Linked DNA regions of Homo sapiens: all the other regions are linked to region 3. The links are contacts of gene promoters, found by promoter capture Hi-C in human tissues and cell types (Jung and others, 2019). All regions are on one chromosome and are shown on one strand. Each heading gives the region's core, a stretch centred on a gene start or on the middle of the fragment in contact. The rest is flanking DNA. Distances are from core to core; before and after follow the strand shown. Region 1 overlaps NKAIN3 (sodium/potassium transporting ATPase interacting 3). Region 2 overlaps NKAIN3 (sodium/potassium transporting ATPase interacting 3). Region 3 holds the start of NKAIN3 (sodium/potassium transporting ATPase interacting 3). Region 4 overlaps NKAIN3 (sodium/potassium transporting ATPase interacting 3).

Region 1 (3,180 bases), core at 287-2,786, 290 kb before region 3:
ATGCTCCAAAAATAGAGTCATTTCTTTGAAATTTTTCATGCATGTCTATACATGTCCTAAGATTCACATATATAGTCACATATATATGTGTGTTTCTGTACTTATGTATATACATATATGACATATGTGGTGTTAGGATATATATTGGTGTTCATCCATGGTTCCTGGCTCATAACTCCCATAGCCCTTGTTACAGTCTTTTGTTACAATGTTGGGTGTATTAGGACTCAGAGGCAGGCCATTGATGTCTGGCCCTCCTTTTACCTGCCCAAAGTAGGACTCTAATCTTCCCTGGACTTTCTGATTGTGGGTCTTAAGACTCTCTCATTAGAGGATCCCACCCTATTCTCTGGAAGTAGGAATGCTGAAGTCATGAGGCTTCCATAAAAACCCAAGAGGACAGAGTTCCAAGAGCTTCCAGGGAGCTGAATACCTGGAGGCTGCTGGAGGGTAGGGCACCCAGGGAGGGTATGGAAGCTCCATGTCCTTTCCCCCATACCTCACCCTATACATCTCCTCATCTTGATCCTTTGCAATATATTTTATAATAAATCAGCAAATGTAAGTAAATGTTTCCCTGAGTTCTGTGAGCCACTCCAGAAAATTGATGAGCCTAAAGAAAGGATCATGGGAATCCCAACTTGAAGCCCGGTGGTCAGAAGTTCTGGAGGCTCAAACTTGGGACTGGTAGCGGGGTGAGTGGAAGGCAGGGCAGTCTTAGGGACTGAGCCCTCAACCTGTGAGATCTGACACTGTCTCCAGGTAGATAAAGTCAGAATTGAATTAGAGGACACCCAGCTGGTGTTCACTGCTTGGTGTGTGGGGAAAAACACCCCACACATATGGTCACAGAAGTCTTCTTCTGTATTGATGATTGCTTTAGTGTGAGAATAGAAAACACAGAGAGAGTTTTCCGAACATAACATGAATATGAGCATAACTGAAACAGCACGTGGACTGTGGCATGTGCTGTCAGTACTTCAATGAGACAAATAGTGTACGAATTCAACTCAGTGCTCATCTGCTAGCTCTACCAATTTTGGATGCAAAGAAGAATCACTTAGTGTTGAACTGAATGGTAGTAATGACTCCATAAAGACACTCCAATTCCAAGTTTATAAATAATGCTCATAAAAAAGCATGCACACAAATCAATTTGAATTCCAATTATACATCTGCAATGGATAGAGTTATTTGTCTAGTTGTGTTTCACAGGAAGCTGCTCATGAACACTTTCTTTGGGACCATTCTGTGGAGCTTTCAGAAAATCAGAAACTATACGAAAAAAAAAAAAACCAATAAATGCAATGTTTTTACATTTTTACCATGAAGAAAGAAGCACTTCCCTGGCAGGCAGGGGCAGCCATATGGAGAAGTAGAGGTCTCTGCTAGACCAGTGGTTCTAGAATTTAGCCCAGAAGCAGCAGCATCAACAAATTCAAATTCTTCTAATTCTGTTAGTACAGATACCCAGGCTTTACTCCAGATTTACAGAAGGAAAGTCTGGGGGTGGGGCCCAGTACTCTGATTTAGCGAGCCATTGAGGCCCTTTGGCTGCATGCTGAAGTATGAAAACCGCTGTGTTATGTTTTCAATAAGAAACAGCTGATGCGTTTTACAGTTCACAGGTGACATTCATCTTATGTTGGTTTTGGGGGTGTGAAAAAAATACATTTAATGATGTTCAAAATGACATCCTTTCTAACTAACAAATGACGTGCTGGTGGGTATGATTTCGTGGTTCGGCAATATCAGCACTGCGAGAGAAGGTTGCACTAGAGTCAGCTCAGCGGGTGACCTGTACTATTTATGAGCATGCCTGTTGTCAGTGTTTCTTCCAGACAGGTGTTTCATTTAACCTAGCTTGGTTGTCATTAACCTTCAAAGGAAGAAACTCAACTTTTCCCACGTGTGGTCGCTGTTTAACTCAGACCCGGGCTTCCTGTGCACGCTCACTGGAACATACGTATGGGAACAAGCCTAGCCGGGGGCAGAGCTCTCATCTCATGCCCGTGGTGCTTAATAAAAAGTGGGAGATCTCAGGCAGGAAGATCATCAGACAATAGAGAGAGACTCAGAAAATTCAGTAGCTGGGAAGAGCTCAGCCTACCCTCCTTGTTTTCACGAAGTTGCCATGGTAATGTTGCGTCTGAAGTCAGCCGGAGACAATCACAGAAAGGGACTTGCAGTGTCCTCCATGGACCCCACATTCTCCCTCATATTCCAGTTCCAGTTTGTGGTATTTCTTTCATGTCTAGCAACTTGCAAGTCTGGATGATATTGCAGAATAAGTATTATCACAATTTTGTTTTCCATAATTTCATGGTAGATGAGTTCTACTAATATTTACTCAGGGTCTGAAAAAACATTTTAAAAATTCAGGCTTAATTCCCATTCCTGTGAATATAACACAAACGACCAATTTATACATGGGACTTTTTCTCTGTATACAGCTAACGACTAAAGATTCAAGGAAAGGGGAGAGCAATTTTACAAATTTAAGAAACTTTCAAAAGATCTACTAAGGAAGAAAGCAGCAGAAAAAAGGGGAAATCTTTCCTGGGCCTTCCAAGTAGAGAGAACTCAGTCTCCCAAATGTAATTCATGTTCTTTAGAGGATGATTCTCCTGGTCCAAGCATCCTGAAGCCCTGTTAGGAGGTGGGGTGAGAAGATGAGCACATAAGGCCCTGCCCAGCCATGGGGCTAAGCCCGCTTCAGGCGAAACTATACATTTAGGAGACTTCCTTTTTGGTGTCACCACACAGAGCCTCAATCTATGTTCTACAGTTTGTTCCACTGCAGCTGGGCCATTCTATAAGATTATCCCCCCAGAAGGTATCGACTGTTAATAGCTCTAGTTATTACTGGTTAAAATTCCATCTTTTTACATGTGTCCCCTCGAGATACTCATTCTTTAACAGGGTGCTTACTCAAAGGCACATTTTCAATGAGGCCTTTCCTAATCAAACTGTAACTTACAGTTTCCTCCCCAAACTCCTTCATTTCCTGTTTTCTTTTCCTTATCACATAAGCATATATCATTATTCCACTATTGTATATTTTATGTATGTATCTGATTTATTTCTGTTGTCTCCCCCACACCACTAGAATGTCAGAGCATTTTGTTTGTCTGAAAATAGTATCTAAGTGTCTAAAGAGTGACACAGAACAGACATTCC
Region 2 (3,662 bases), core at 659-3,158, 390 kb before region 3:
CATTATTTTATTATTCTGGTGCCAAGTTATCTTAAAGAAAGGCCAAAAAAAGATGCTATCAAAGGATTCTTTTAGCACTAACATTCATTGGTCATTTCCATTTATTTCTAGAACCAAAAAATGCTCCAAAATTATGATCTGAACAAAAACCTGAAGGTGTCCCTTTTGTGCTTAATAATATATAAATTTCAGATAGTTCCAATAAATTTTTTATTTTATTCAATCTTATTATAGAAAATGCATGCCTCTTTTTGTATTTACTAACAAGTCTTTCTGTTTACAATATGTTAGCATATAAACTAATTGAGAAAAATGGTAATATATAAAAAGGAGGGAGGAATCTGCCTACATAAAGCTCATCATTATTTCATTTGTACTTAACACGACTTTGGACAAAGTAAACTACCTACTTTGTCTGCAGGAAAAGGAGCCAAGGGAAAAGCTCCTAAAGAAAAGAGATTAACATTTTTTAAAATAAATTATTAAGGTGTGAATTAAGTGGGTATATTTGCCTTACCAGATAGAGCAAAAAGGTGTATATTCAGTTATTTGCTTTGTTTGCTTTGTGCATTATATTGTTTAGCATTGTACCAAGAGACCAAGAAAGGGGGAATAAATTATAAAAATGAGGCTGTCCTTTGAGAACCTGGCAGTCAGAGGTCAGCACCAACATTATCCAATGTCAAAATCAGAAGCCTAAAAGACAATATTAAATACAAACTACTCTATAGGTGTGAGAATGTGTTATGATAATAAATATAGAAAATGATATTATGTCTTTGTAATGGACTGTGCCCATTAGTATCCTATGGGTATACGTTTTGTTGAGAAATACAAAATTCTGACTGAGGTTTCGATGACAGTTCTGCTATGTCATGCTACATGGTGACATGTAGGAACCTCAAGCTTACCAGTGACAAACTGGTTTCTATTTCAATAATGGGTTTCAAGTGGTAAGCTCAGAACAGATGGGTGTAGGAGCATTGTTTTTGTCATCGTTATTTTCTCAACTTCTAAACTTTAAATAAAAAACATGTATTATCTTTATTTTTTTAAAAAGCATTTTTCCCAGGAGTGCAGTGCGGTTGCATGGTCTGATTTGTTTCATCCATATATCTCTTGGCAGGTTGCATCCCAGCATTCTCAGAACATGTTACCTTGTGACCCACCACTCTGGGCAGTCAATAAGGGCCTCTTTTATGGCTACTATTCATTTCTAAATGAGATTAAAAATACAGGTAAAATTTCTGAAATTAATCTTAGCCAAATGCATCATAGTCTTAGAGAAAAGACTTTCAATAAACATATAAGATTTGTAGCACAGAAAAAAAGCTATATCTAACTTTTTCATTTATTCGTTCTCACACACATTCTCTTGAAAATAATTATGTGATTTCCATATTCAAGAATAGGTTACTCAGATAACTAACCCCTTCCTAATCTTGCCTCTCACTTTATCAATCAATGAGCTATTTAACTTGCTAAGTAGCATCTGAATGCCCAGGAAACATTTCTCTGTGTCCAGGAATTTTGAGTCTGTCTAGAGTCAGGCTCTTAAAGAATACAGATGTTTTTCTGACTGCTGGTTGTCCTCCCAACCACTTATCAAAAACCTACAAAAAGCAAATGTGCTACAAAGAATTTATGGATTACTGAGAGCATTTCTGTTATTGTGATAAGGTATTTCATAGCTAACTTTTTAGCTGCAATTACATGGAAGAGTCAGCCTACATTAAACAGAGTTCAGCTTTCCTGACAGCTATCAAAAAATCCTTCTGTTCCTTAGGTCCAGCAAGACACACAGCAATAGAGTGTGTCTTTATTTATGAACAAAAATCAAAGCAATTATTAAAATTTTCATTTATTTTTCAAAGCTTTCTGTTAGCACAATTACATAACTGTATTTGGGAGCTTCTTTTATCATCTAGAAGAGTGCTTATCAAATTTTGGTGGTGTAAGGATCATCTGAGCATCTTGTTAAAGTGTAGATTCTGATTCAGTGGGTCTGGAGTGAATCCATGAACCCAAGAACCAAGATGCATTTCTAATAAGCTCTAAGATAGTACTTGTGCTGCTGGTGTTAGGACCAACTTTGAGAAGCAAGGGACTAAAAAAAAAAAATAAATAAATGAGGCTTTTCTATTTCTCAGGCACAGTGTCTGACTTTTACTACCATAATGCTGAGGGTTAGACATTACTGGGGTTAAAGAATGTGGACACAAAAACATGACTGAATAGAACTGGCCCTAGTTTTCAGCTTCGATTTAAGAAACTAGAAACAGCCACCTCACACCAGTGCTTCTTCAGGTCCTAGACCAGATTCGATGAGTAGAGGACATATTTGAGTAGATGGAGAATTTAGACCCACCTCTGGGGTGCTCAGAGGAATCCCACGGATACCTTTAGTGATATGAGGGCTAAGCCAGACGTGTTTGCCAGGCTGGGTGCGCGCAGAGGAAAAAGAGCAATGATTTCTATGAATACCTCTTTTAATATGGGTCAGGGCAGAGGAAAGAAGGGCTAGAAACATCTCCTCAGGCATTTAATTCACAATGGTAAATTCAGTCTTCAATCTGAAAGTTCACAAATCTTTATGAGATACTGTATTAGTTCATTCTCACACTGTTATAGAGATACTACCCAAAACTAGGCAATTTATAAGAAAAGAGGTTTAATTGACTCAGAGTTCCTCATGCCTGGGGAGGCCTCAGGAAACTTACAATCATGGCAGAAGGGGAAGACACACGTCTTACATGGCGGCAGGTGAGAGAGAGGGCAAAGCAAAGGGGGAAGAGCCCCTTATAAAACCATCAGATCTCATGAGAACTCACTATCATGAGAAGAGCATGGGGGAAACCGCCCCCGTGATCCTATCACCTCCCACTAGGTCTCTTCCTTGACATGTGGGGATTACAATTCAAGATGAGATTTGGGTGGGGATACAAAGCCAAACCATATCAGGCACCTACTTGCCAGGTCACGGAAGTATGCCCTGGAGAAGATACCAATTAGTACAACCTTGGGATTCCACCTTTGAGAAACTTGTAAATGATTGGGAAAAATATGATTTTCACATACAAAATGGTTAGTAATAATGTGATGCAGTGCTAAACGTCAAATTAGAGATAAGGGCTAAATTTATGACTACAAAGTTTGAATGGACATTTGGTAAAGCTTAGAAGTCCTACTATAATTTCCTGGTACATTTGTGTTCCCATTCTCCAAGATGATTATTGACTTATATTTCTCTCCTCAGTGTCCAAAAGCTCTTTTCCTCATCAGTTATGGCCCCCCTCATTCCTTATTAATAAAAAGGGAAGTAATCAGAAAAAAACCACTTCACTTCTCATCACTAAACTAACTCAAATTTATACTCTCTGCACCCACATCCTCCCCCTTTTCTCTTTTTGCTTGTTCCTGCTGATGACCAACTTGTCTATTTTTATCACTTCTAATCCACTCAAAAATCTTGATTTTATGATTTCCCCTCTCTTTTGCAAGGTCAATTTCTTTTTCTCAACAACAACCTCGACTTGCAATTATGCTTTAATATTGTCTGTACATAATACAAATAAGAAACCAAAAACTCCGTGTAAACTATGTCTTCTGGGCACTGCCTCACTTTTCAGCTCTTTTCTGTACAACTCTTCCAAGCAAGTTAC
Region 3 (3,513 bases), core at 94-2,593:
ACGATTTTATCCCTCAGTTAATAAGTCTTGCAAGGGATGACATTACTAAGTAAAGTTCATTGCAAGCTTTTTCCTCTCACTTGTCAAAATATACTAGTTTATATTTGTGACTCGAAAAAAAATACAATGCTTGGAAGAAAGCTTGGCAGAGCACTCAGAATCTGTCTGAAGTATAACGCAAGGGAGATGTCTATTAATCTCTCACACACAAAAGTCTGACTCAAAAGGTCTGTGGCCTTGACCTCAAGTGACCATGGAATAGACCACAGAGCCAGTCCAGGATCCAAAGGGATTAAGAGGAGCATTTGCTCTGCTCTGAAAGGGCCTTTTTTCCCCACTCTAGTTTCTAACTTCCCATTACACACACTCCCTCTGCAAGGCACCGCGCCAATGGAGCCGGTTCACTCTGTTCTCTCCTTGATGACAGCTGTCAGTCTGTCGCCGCCTGAACATGCAACATTTCAACAAAATCCAAAGCGGAACTGGAAGGGCAGGGGCTGAAGCACACAGCCTGATCTCCTTCCTGGAGGTCCCAGACTCCTTAACCATCACTTTTCAACCTGCTTAAGGTTAGAACCACCTCACTCTTCACTAACAGAGTTGAGGCAGCTTCTGTCTCCTCAGAACCTGGGCATTCCCACACAGTGTAATTAAGCAACATTCCTGGAAATCATCCTAAGAAGAAAGAGCCCGCAAGTCCCCGTGTAACTTCAGCACGAACGCGGAGGGTGCTAAACCAGGTATCGGATCAAGGGGCGGGAAAATCCCTCACTCCGCCGGCTCCTGGCCCCTGGACCGCGTGGCGACGCCCGGCGGGAGCGCGGCGAACCCCAGCGCATGGGACCGGGGGTGAGACCGCGCCCTCCTGCAGGGCAGGGGCGACCTGGCGAGTGCCCGCGGCTGGAGAGCAGTGCGAGCCCAGCCAGGCGGTGGGGAGGGTGGGAGGCGGGCGGAGCGCCCTGTTCACCCGTTCGCCCCTTGCCGGGAGCTGCGGAACCGCAGAGGGAGTCGCAGAGGCCGGTCCTGGAGCAGGGACCTGTCCTGGGGCAGGGGCCCTCGGGGCACTCACCAACTGCAGCGCGCAGAGGCAGATGAGCGAGCAGCGTCCGGTGCAGCAGCCCATGGTGCCGGCGGCGTCCGAGCGGCGCTGACTGCCAGAGATCCTCGTCCTCCGCCGCTGCTGCCTCCTGACTCCGGAGTAGTCCCCGCCCGGCCCGGCCCAGGCTCCTCGGCCCCGCGGCCGCCGCTCGCGGCTCCAGGGCTCGGGGCTCGCGCCCGCCTTTGTTAGTTTCCCGGCGGGGCGGGCCGAGGTCAGTGCGGTGCGCACGACCCGAGCGTCTGGCGGGGGTCCCTGCGTCCCACTGTGCAGGTCTGTTTCTTGGGGAGGGGGAGCCAGGCGGGCGGGGCGGGGGGTTGGAAGGAGGCTACAGATGGCGAGTGGGTGAATGTCTGTTTAGGGGAGGGGAGTATGTAGGAGGTGGGCGTCTGGAAAGTGGAGTGGGCTGTCTGGGTCCGGGTGTGTGTGTGTGTGTGTGTGTGTGGTGGGAAGGGAAGAATGAAAGGGAGTGCCGCTGGGGAGGATCGGCCTGTCTAGTTAAGAGTCTTTGGGGAGAAAGGAAGAGGGACAGAGAGAAAAGAGAATGAATATGAATGAGCGTGAATTAGGGCGGCCGGCGGCGATGGAGACCCTCGTTGACCGGTGTAACTGGGTAGACCCAGCTGGGCTTTCTTGCTGAGGGTTGTGCTGGGGGTTGGGAGGGTGGTCGGACGCGTTTGCAAGGGAGGGGACACGGCTTAGTTGAGCTGCCCCAGAGGTGGCGAGGATGGGAGTTGGGTTAGCTTGGGTTCCGGGGAGGAAGGGCCGGGACGCGAGACACCCAGGGTGGGCGGGCGCCGGGGAGCGCAAGGCCCAGCTCCGGAACCTGCCCGGATGCGAGGGGGCCCGCGGGCGCTGCGCGGGCAAGTCTGTTGAGCCGGCGCTGGGCACGCAGCTCGGGGGTCTCCCATCCGAGCTTGCTTCTGCCCGCCACAGCCGGTTGCCTGGAGGGCGCCCCTGCTGGAGTCTGAAAGGGAAAGTTGGACAGAGTTGGGTGGCAAGGGGCGCTGCGGCGGAGCGATGCACCCGCCCAGGGCGCCGGGACTAGCCAGGACGCCGCGGGGAGACCTGGCTTAAGGTTCTTTTCTCACATACCCTTTGAAATCCTCACCGGGAGGGAGAAAAGAGAAGTCGAGGAAGAAGAAGATGCGTAGCTTTTTCTAGAAATGGAGAAGGTTTCCGGAATAGGTATAAATATATCTTCACAGAAATAAATTGAGAAGGATTTGGAAAGAAGATCTCGGATAGTTAAGATACGGACAAACTCTCTCTGAATCCTGTGGAAACTCTCCTGCTCTCTCCCACCTAATAAAACAGAGCGGAGGCGTTCTGCAGAGGATGAAATTTCATCAGGGCTCAAAGACAGATTTTATGGGCGCATTTGTTGTACCTGGTGGAACTGCGCAAGGAGCTCAAAAGCACACCAGAACAGGGAACAAGCCTGCAGGCCAATTATCTCAGAAAAGGCTGTTTTCAGAATTTGGCACAGAAACCCTGTTTCTAGCCCACTGCTGCCCTCCTGGGTTCTTGGCGGTAGGTTGGTAAGAAAAGGCAAGACATCTTTGCGTTTTTAATACTTCCACTCCAGACATGGAAACTGCTCAAGCCGTTAGTTCAGGCGTTAAAAGCAGTCCTGTTTTTATTTTTATCCTTTCTGAAACGTTTCTTCAGGATCTATGTTTATAATTTAAGACGGTTATCATTCCCAAGGAAGTCTGCACATCTTTGAAATTCTAGTAGGGACACATGAATAACCTCAGGATTTGGGTTATTAAAAGGGTCAAGAACATTCATTGTTTACATTCCACCTCTGATATTATCATGGAGACAGGAGAAGTCCAGTCAGAACTCCTCCTCCTTTTTTAATTCAAGCGTTAAGACATCAGTGATCAAGGATCATGTGAGCACGCTGCCTTTATGCACAATCCACGTACTCGTCATCATTCTTTATGGATGAAAACAATAGAAAAAAATGAACACTGACAAATAAGTAGTTTAGCATGTAGAAAAGGACATTGCAGAACATCTCAGGCCATTGACCCCTCTAAAAGCTGTAGGAAGCAGCTGAAAAGTGAGAGGACATGAACAAGTCTTCTATCTATAACTTCCAGAAATTGTTGTAACCTTTTCATCTCCAGAGACTGTGATGAATGATGGTAATAAAAATACTGACACTTCCTTCTCTCCAAATTACATATGTTTACCCCAGTATACTTTGTCATGATTTTATTTATTTAGGAAGTACCATATTAGCAGCTAACTTGCACTGGGTCCTTGCCAGGTGCCATACACCCATCTAAGTACTTTATGTGTGTTCACTCATTTAATCATCACTGCAACCTCATTGGGGTGGGTGCTGTGAGCATCATCACTGAAAAGATAGGGAAACAGGAGGAGAGGCTCCCCTGGCTGCTAAA
Region 4 (3,688 bases), core at 412-2,911, 510 kb before region 3:
AACCATAATATTGGATTTATATAAGACCAGGCATCCGTGTAAGAGCTGTCAGTTGCTATCTGTAACGCAGATGTTTCCAAAAGATGAACATATGACGTTATGTAGATAAAATATACAGTGGATTGCCTAAATTCCTCTCAGAATTTATCAGTGGGAAGGTGAAGGCTAACTAAATTTAAATTTTAGTTCAGAAAATTTTGCTAAATATTATACATATATCTGTAACAGGCAGAGATATTAAGAGTAAATGTATGATAGAATATTATTCAGCCATAAAAAAGGAAGTTCTGATACATGCTACATGGGTGAACCTTAAAAATATGTGCTAAGTGAAAGAAGCCAAACACGAAAGACCACATTTATATGACATATCCAGTAGAGGCAAGTCTATAGAGACAGAAATTAGATTAGTAGTTTCTTAGAGCTGGGGAGAAGAATGCACAGGTTGTGATAGCTAAGGGGTGGTGCTTTCTTTCCAAGGTGATAAATATGTCTTAAAATTGACCATGGTGATGGTTGCACATATCTGTGAGTAGACTGAAAGCTATTGAATTGTACACTTTAAAATGATGAATTGTATGGTATGTGAATCATATTTCAGTAAGTCTGACAAAAATGTATACACATTTCACCAAGAGAGTATACTGCATAGACACAAATACAAAGAATGAAGTGATTTAAAATCACAGCTCACTAAATGGACAGTTCCAGGCCCCAACAATTTGACTGACCAGGTGTACCCTGGCTTCTGAACACAAATGTTTCTGCCAAAGCCCTTTGAATATTTTTGGCATGGAAATTCTCCCACAACCATAAACCCCTCTCAATATTGTGATGATCCAATAAATGATTCCTTGGGTGAGTGGAACTTTAGATAAACTGTTGCTTTACTTTTCTGAGCATGGAACTGAATATAGAGACCAGAGATGGTGTATAGTGAGTAAGTCAGTCTAAATCTTTAATAGTTCTATCTAGCACTTAGAAGCAGCTCAAAATTTGGTATGAGCAGAAGCCATCTATTTTATATAAAAATAGATTTTCTGGTAAAAGGGTAATCCTGGGAGGCTTTTGGGACAGGAGAGGTTGGTCATGATTTCTTTCCTCTTACTAGACCCTGGAAAGCGCTAGCAAGCAAAAGAGAAAAAAAAAGAGTCCAATATATTTAGCATTTGACAAATGTTGAAATAATCCATTTAAAAAATAAACAACAATGATCAGAAAGGCTGTTGAGAGATGTTTTCAAGAGTGAAAGGAAACATTTTTAACTATTTGCCAATCTTTTAACTATTAGACATAATTGTACTTTTATTTTTACTTTCTAATAGTGGAGCTGCAATTAAATCCCATCAGCCTAACAGGAGATTCATAGCTTTATGGATCTGACAGAGTTTACCCCCGAACCCTGCAAGGTGTTGCAAGGAGAAGTCCTCTTTTCTCACATGACCAGGAATTGTCTGCCAGGGTTTGAGGTCCACCTTCACTCACAAGCTGTGGGATCTTGGGCACATTTTTTAACTTCTCCATGTGTCTCAGTTTTCACACATATAAAATGACTATAATAACACTACCCTCATGGGTCATTTTGAGAATTAAGTGAGTTCATATTTGAAAAGCACAGAGATCAGCTCCAAGAGCATGCTGAGTTTGTTAAATAAATGCAAATGTTAACACAGAAATTTAAAAAAATCTTTTAACTATATTTACATTTTTGGAGAGGTACAATTAAAAGCAATTGGGATATATTTCAAAAGTTCAGTTTCACCTGTCTTTTGACTTACATTCTTGCACTCTGTGAGCATGTTACTGAAGCAACAGTAGTATTGTCTACTCTGACATTGTGCAATTTATTCTATAAGCATATGAACAGATAGCTATACAGCCTTTGGAGAACAAAGATTCTACAGGATACCTTGTGGTCTAATATTACTTTTTACCCTTCTCTATTAAGTTTTAATTTATCATTAAGCTGAATGTGTCCGATATGAAAGGCAGAGAACAGTGACAAATGTTGATGTGAACAGAGAGATACAATGCAAAAGGCATAGGGATGATGAAAAAACAATTCTCATAGGACCCCAGCTCCGACCATGGTGACAACCTCCAAAGGTTTGTTAAAGAATGTGACTTGTCACCTATCAGATATGAGGGAGAATATATTGACAGTGAGGATTCAAGACAATATATGTGTAAAATTAGCTGCAAAGAGAAATCAATAAGGTGAGTTTTAAAACTCTTTTCCAAGTTTGGAGATTAGGATTTTTCTACTAGTTATAAAAATGAGCTCCTTTATATGTGTGCATGTGTGTGTGTGTGTGTGTGTGTGCACTAATCAACATGAGCATATGAATCCATGTTTACCAGTAAATAACTAACACTGAAAATTAAAAAGGGACTTAAATTGGATATTATTGACTTATTAACCCCAGAACTGAGCAGTCCACTAAAATGAAATATTTTATAGTAACTAAGATTTATGAGTGCCTCTAAATGATCAAATAAAAGTTATGAGATTTAGGATTGGTTGATAATTTAAGAAAAGCAACTATAACATCTCTTCTGATTTTCTATACAAATCAAATATACAAATATGATAATTAAATAGTATTATTTAAAATATCATACAATGTGTAAAAACATTTTTTTGGGAAGGCATATCCATAATTCTAAATCTTTTTGTATCTGAACTTTCTTCCTGGATTATGTACTTGAATCATAAAAAACTGTTTCATGTTTTATATATGGTCTTAAAATTAACATAGTTATTACTTTCTATTCATCAAGTTGATGTACTATAAATTGTTATACCATGTCTTTAATTGCATATATTTATACATATCCAGATTTGCTGTTATAAATAACACTGAAATGAACATAATGCAGGTAGCTGTTTCTTTCTGTTGAATTATTTTCTTAGAAGAAAGCCCATTGAGTGGGGTTACAAGACCAAAAGTTATGGGCATTTTAATAGTCTTTGAGACAAAGACTGCTTCTACCAATAAGTGAATTACAATTCTATTTAACATTATCTTTACAAATTGCTAAATTAGTGAAAATAATTTTTTCAAAGTTAACTTGCATACATCAGGTTAGTATCAATAATTATATTTTATACCAAACTGTTTACAATTTGGATGTTTTTCCCTTATGTGAACACATTTGTTCATATTGTTCATTGAATTAATTACTAAATTTTCATGGTTTTAGTACTAATTTAAATGATCTCATTGTGTATTATGAATAATGACCCTTTCTTTGCCACATGTGATACAAATATTAAAATTACTTTTAAATTTCAGTTTTGTAAGCTTTCATGTTTCAGATGTTCGGGTGCTAAATGAGTAAAATACAGCACTGTAGGATGACATTAATTGATAATAGAGATTATTTCAAGCAGAAATACTTTATTCACATTCTCTAGCAGAAAAAGGAAATGCTATACTGTGCGTGCGTGCGTGTGTGTGTGTGTGTGTGTGTGTGCATCCTCTTTAAATCTGTGGTATTAAATTCCCAGAGTAAGAATGTAATTTAAAAATGCCTAAAATACAGTGCTTAGAATTCAACTAGACATAGTTTTTAATTTTCACCAGAAACTGTTTTGAAATCCCCCCACTGGAAGCAAAGCAACTAAGGTAGTCTAAACTTATTAAAATAACTCTCAAAATAAAGAACATGCGGAAGAACAAATTCA

Evidence for each region. The method cuts DNA at HindIII sites, captures the fragments that hold promoters and counts their contacts. A contact is called where the count stands out against the background at its distance.
Region 1: a contact is called between a fragment that was not itself captured here and the fragment with the promoter of NKAIN3 in region 3, in 2 of the 25 tissues and cell types used here (dorsolateral prefrontal cortex and stomach).
Region 2: a contact is called between a fragment that was not itself captured here and the fragment with the promoter of NKAIN3 in region 3, in 1 of the 25 tissues and cell types used here (dorsolateral prefrontal cortex).
Region 4: a fragment that was not itself captured here is called in contact with the fragment with the promoter of NKAIN3 in region 3 in 1 of the 25 tissues and cell types used here (spleen).

The regions. Positions count from the first base shown.
Region 1 is chr8:62,532,977-62,536,156 of GRCh38, reverse strand. The region is part of intron 1 of NKAIN3 (sodium/potassium transporting ATPase interacting 3); the gene reads right to left. Among named protein-coding and RNA genes, the nearest start is that of NKAIN3, 290 kb to the right of the region's middle. The HindIII fragment of the contact is 5,741 bases long and covers 1-3,180 here.
Region 2 is chr8:62,639,471-62,643,132 of GRCh38, reverse strand. All of the region lies in intron 3 of NKAIN3 (sodium/potassium transporting ATPase interacting 3), which reads right to left. Among named protein-coding and RNA genes, the nearest start is that of NKAIN3, 390 kb to the right of the region's middle. The HindIII fragment of the contact is 3,272 bases long and covers 273-3,544 here.
Region 3 is chr8:62,246,684-62,250,196 of GRCh38, reverse strand. It overlaps NKAIN3 (sodium/potassium transporting ATPase interacting 3), which reads right to left and starts at 1,343. Exons shown (of 7, transcript NM_001304533.3): 1 at 1,070-1,343. The coding sequence starts at 1,123. It overlaps LOC124901952 (a long non-coding RNA gene), which reads left to right. Exons shown (of 2, transcript XR_007060932.1): 1 at 1-740. The HindIII fragment of the contact is 6,824 bases long and covers 1-3,513 here.
Region 4 is chr8:62,752,998-62,756,685 of GRCh38, reverse strand. All of the region lies in intron 4 of NKAIN3 (sodium/potassium transporting ATPase interacting 3), which reads right to left. Among named protein-coding and RNA genes, the nearest start is that of GGH, 280 kb to the left of the region's middle. The HindIII fragment of the contact is 4,709 bases long and covers 1-3,688 here.